2 separate regions of the Homo sapiens genome follow, and region 2 is linked to region 1. The links are contacts of gene promoters, found by promoter capture Hi-C in human tissues and cell types (Jung and others, 2019). All regions are on one chromosome and are shown on one strand. Each heading gives the region's core, a stretch centred on a gene start or on the middle of the fragment in contact. The rest is flanking DNA. Distances are from core to core; before and after follow the strand shown.

What was found. Contacts are between HindIII fragments. The study calls those that stand out against the background at their distance.
Region 2: a contact is called between a fragment that was not itself captured here and the fragment with the promoter of SHROOM3 in region 1, in 3 of the 25 tissues and cell types used here (aorta, stomach and thymus).

What each region holds. Positions count from the first base shown.
Region 1 is chr4:76,433,938-76,436,550 of GRCh38, forward strand. SHROOM3 (shroom family member 3) reads left to right here and starts at 1,292. Exons shown (of 11, transcript NM_020859.4): 1 at 1,292-2,283. The coding sequence starts at 2,116. The HindIII fragment of the contact is 12,167 bases long and covers 1-2,613 here.
Region 2 is chr4:76,474,002-76,476,614 of GRCh38, forward strand. All of the region lies in intron 1 of SHROOM3 (shroom family member 3), which reads left to right. Among named protein-coding and RNA genes, the nearest start is that of SHROOM3, 40 kb to the left of the region's middle. The HindIII fragment of the contact is 4,247 bases long and covers 1-2,613 here.

The DNA of each region.
Region 1 (2,613 bases), core at 42-2,541:
ACAAAATGTATTAGGAGTAACATAATAAGAGCCTCATAAATTAATTTTTTCAGAAAGAAAGCTGTTCATTTACCTAGGACTTTTATTTAAAATACATATGTTCTTTGAAATGAAAGAAAAGCTAATGTTTCTCCATTTATTCTAACTTACAAATTAAGCTGTAAAAGAAAACCACAATAGAAATTGCGTAAATTACCCTTAAGAATCAGCCAATTTTTACCACATACTTTCATTTGGTACACCTTAGGTTTCCTTATGTTTCCATTCACATACTACCATTACATAAGGTTTTACTTTTTTTTTTTTTTTTTTGTCTTTGAGCCCTTCAAGTGAAGTTACCATTGAAAATCAAACAATACCTGTCCAGTGTTGTAAATTAAATATCGTGTAGTTTGATATCATATACCTGCCTTTCCATATCAGCCTTTCATTAATTATAAGTACAAACACCAAAATAATTGTTATCAAGCCCCACAGTAGTTTTTAACTTCAGTTTTCAACTTAATTCTCATTATCCCATACTTTTAAACAGAAAAAAGTTTTAGTACATATATTACCTGGAAGTAATTCTAATCTGTTCCAATAACTAAATAGCTGAGGCTTCTGGGTTAGATATGGTTATCTTCTACTGTTCAAATTTTTAATACAAAGCATGAATGTTAAATTTGTATATAACATTATTACAAAATGACACTGGTAACATGAAATCAGAACAACATTCTTTCCCGAGTACCTAGTACTTACCCACAAGGCATTGTAGATTTCTTTTCATTTAAAGAGTGGATAACAATCTTGGAGTAGATAACAATGAAAACCTAGAAAAAAAAACCCACCTCCTGTTTTTATTGAGTCAAACAAGCAGAACTTTGATTGGAAAGTCCCATTTCATATATTACACTGGTAGTATTTTCTTCTAACGAAAAAAAAAAAGCCCTTGTGCCACCACCTTGACATGTACTTAAACGTTTACCCAAATCACTTAGGCATTGCTTCTCAAACTTGGCTGCATAGCAGAATTGCCTGGAGGGTTTTTAAAAACACAAATGCCTATGTCTCACTCCCTGAAATTCTCCTTTAATTGGTACGAGGCGGGGCTATTCTAGGAACTATTTTCTATCCCTTGGCAATTAGCCATCTGTATAGTATTTTTAACTTCCTACGTGTTATTAACTGTAAGACTGTTTGAATTGTCAGGTCTTTGTGGTGAGCTGAATTCTGCATGGCAGTGCTTACTGTGCAGAAAGGTTGCAATGCCTCACTTTGCCTTAATCCATGTTCCTCTAACTTCCTTACTCTTTCTCTCAAGAGGAGGCAAGTGGCTGTGGCGGCCGCAGCAGTGGCTGATCATCACTGAAAATACCAAAGAAAAGAACTGAGCTGCCTCCTTCATATTTTTTCCATTGAGGATTAATTTACCGTGCTTTTTCATTTTCTCTACATCCTGCAAAAGTTTTTTTCTCTCCTAAGAAACAAACTATGAACTGATTGTTGAAAAAAAGAAGTAAAAAGTTTTAGCACAGCTTCTCTGTCTCTTCGGGACAAGTTAGAAAATTCTGAAGTGAGCCGAAGCATAGTAAGTGCTTTCTTTCTTTTTAAGCTACTTCTGGGGAGGGAGGAGGCTATTGTAATGGTAAATTTCACTCCGAGAGGAAGAAAGGGTTGATAATCAATCAAAAATGAGGTATTCCTTTGAGTATTTGTGATTTTCTTACTATATTGTAAGATGCTTTTAATTTTCTCTGTAAAATAGGCAGAAATGGTTTTAGTGTGTGTATGTGTGAAATAAAAGCTCAGAAAAGCAATCTTCAGAGCGCCACTGAAGGAAGTTTTGACGAACGGAGTAGAGATGTATACCACTTGGGGGCTTCAGTGAGAACCCAGAATTCCTGGAGGAGGATTTACATTCAGAAATGTTGAAGTGAAAATTCCTTCTGGTTCAGCATCTTGGAGTTCAGCTTGGAAGAACATTTTACGTATGGAAGAATTTGCTTCTCCAAACCTCTCTTTTGGCCATTGTGTGTCCTGAAGGATGGGACAACTTGTGCTGTAGAAGCACTGCTTGCCTGAGTTTGCTTCAGGCATTTTAAATTTAACTTGAGGGATCATGTGTTTGGCATGATGAGGACCACTGAAGACTTCCACAAGCCTAGTGCCACATTAAACTCTAACACGGCCACCAAGGGAAGGTACATTTATCTGGAGGCATTCCTGGAGGGAGGAGCTCCCTGGGGTTTTACTCTAAAGGGTGGCCTGGAGCACGGAGAACCATTAATCATCTCTAAGGTATGTTTCTTTTTCCAATATTGCCTTTATTCAAATTGTTTTTTTCAACTTGTCAGATTTGTCAAAAATGCAAAATAATGAGAACTGCCTTAATATAACTTAATTTGCTGTTTCATGCCTTTCTGATTATCTAGAAATATTTTGGATAGCCTGGGATTTGAAAGAAAAATGTGTCTAGCTCATTTATTCTATGAAATCCGAAGAAAAATATGCCTGTTTGATGGATAATCTTCTCTTTTTGTGAATGAAATCGCATACAATCAGTTACCACATGAGCTTTTCAGTTATAAATCAGATTAAAGATTAATAACATGGTTAAGATGGTGGCAT
Region 2 (2,613 bases), core at 41-2,540, 40 kb after region 1:
TGTACATGAATGTTTATAGCAATAACAAAAAAGTAGAAAAAAAATTTTCATCAACTGATGGAAAAATAAAATATGGTGTACTCATTGATGAAATATTATTCAGTCATATAAAAGAATGAAGTACTGATTCATGCTACAGCACAGAGGAACATTAAAACGTTATGCTATGTGAAAGAAGCCATAAAGGCCACACATTGTATAATTCCATTTATAAGAAATGTTCAGAATAAGCAAATCCATAAACACAGAGAGAGTATTAGTGGTTGTCAGGGACTATGGGGGAGGATGGATGGGAGAGTGACTACTAGAGGGTACAGGACTTAATTTTAGTGTAATAAAAAATGTTATGAAATTAGATAGTGGTAAGATTGTAAGACTGAATATGTTAAAAACCACTGACTTGTGTACTCTAAAAAGCTGAATATTCTGGTAAGTGAATTATTATCTCAATAAAATAAATAAAATACAAAGTATGGGATAGTTCCATGCTTTGTAATGGTTATATTTGACTAAATTATAGATTGTACAAAGAGAGTAATGGGAAATAAATTTTAAAATATAAATTGAAATCAAATTATAAAAGGCTTTATTAGTGAGAAGCTGTCAGTAGAGAACCATTAAAGATTTCTGAGGCCAGGCATGGTGGCTCACACCTGTAATCCCAGCACTTTGGGAGGCTGAGGCAGGTGGATCAACTGAGGTTGGGAGTTTAAGACCAGTCTGGTCAACATGGTAAAACCCATCTCTACTAAAAATACAAAAAACAACAACAACAAAAAGCCAGACGTGGTGATACATGCCTGTAATCCCAGCTACTTGAGAGGCTGAGGCAGGAGAATTGCTTGAACCTGGGAGGTGGAGGTTGCAGTGAGCTGAGATCGCGCCACTGCACTCCTGCCTGGGTGACAGAGTGAGACTCTGGCTCAAAAAAAAAAAAATTTTTTTTTTGAGAAAGTGAGGAATGTGATTAGAGCGTGGTTCAAGAAATTTAGTCTAGCATCATTTTGATTCATCTCTGCGTCTTTCCTAGCCTTTGTACTAGAGAGGACAGTGATTATGTACTTTGTAGCTTAGTTTTGTCTTAGGGAATACATATGATTTTAGAAATTTTTCAAAGGACTGGATCATATTAGCCTGGTAAATTGAATTATATGTCGTTTTGTAATAATACAATGTATATGAATATATACAAGCATTACCTCATTTCATAGGAAAGAGGTGATAGATAAAATGAGAAAAAGCGAGATTTTGGTTGTGTTTACTAATACATATTTCTGATTTGGAGAACTGGGAAGGGAAAACATAACTGTATTAGTCTAAGTCTCAATGGGTTGCTATATTAGAATAATTCACTAAGGGTTGTCAAGGACTGTGAAGGATCTGAGAATTGACCTTACCAGCAAGCTAACAAATTAACCTGCCATAGTTTCATGAATGCTGGCAGAAGACACAAGACTTTTGGGTCAGAGATAAAGGACTTTTGCATTTTATCATAGTTGATTTCAACTTTAGTTAGTGGAAGAGTTAACTAGTTACACAATTTTTAGAAATGTAATCAAATTAGTACTTGAAAGCTCCAATATATTTATTGTAAAATAAAATATTCAATGCAGAAGTTGCATAAAACCTGTTTCTCACATTGCTTTTTGAATACATGCTTAAGGGACATTTAAGAGTCTATGGCAAATGTTGGCTCTTTGGATTGAAAACCACAAGCTAAAAAAGAATATTAAGGAAATCCAAAGCAAATCACTTGATTTATACCAAGCACTCAATTTTCTCAACACAGTTCTTCAGAAGACAGTTTCAGTAAATTGTGTTAACCACAGATTCATTGTTTACAATAGCTTTCATTAATGTAACATTCCACAGTAGGGAAAAAAATTTTACAATGAGTGAGAAAACACTCTGTAATTAATTCTCCTAGTGTTTTCTACAATATTCCAAGAGATCTGTGTGGATCACAAAACAATACTGTTTTTTAAAAAAATTCTGTTCTAGAAATCACATGAAACAATCCTACCTGTAACTGCAATTGTATTTTATTTTATTTAAATCTGATGAACTGCATGGGCATACAACACAATGTGAGGGCAATTGTGCCAGCAGAATATGTCTATGATCAGGCAGTATGCTGAGAACCAGCAGGTGGGGGAAAATGAGACTTGGGGGACTACAGGGAATGAATCTGGAGGCAGCAGCAATTTTTTAGAATAATTTGAAAACCCTTTGTTTTGAAGGATTTGGTTACCTAATTAGGTTAGAGAAGCTTGTGTGCTTTGTACACAAGGAGAGATGATCTCTATGCTTTTCCTAGACTCTCAAAGCCATTTGTGTTAATTATATGACCTCCACTAAGCACTCAAGGTCTGGCCTATGATATGTTTTCTGTACTCTTCCAAATGCTCATACATTCATTATTAAGAAACTTGGCTTCAGAGCATCAGATTACTGCATTTCTTGTAAACCAGCTTAGTGGCAACAAAATCCAATTCATCTCTAGACATTGGGTTTTCTTAGATGAGCTCTTCTATTTTTCTGTCCCTTGGTTAAAGAAGAGCTGCAAATAGGTCTGCAGAGCTACTTGGTTATCAGTTTTACTTACTATCAAAA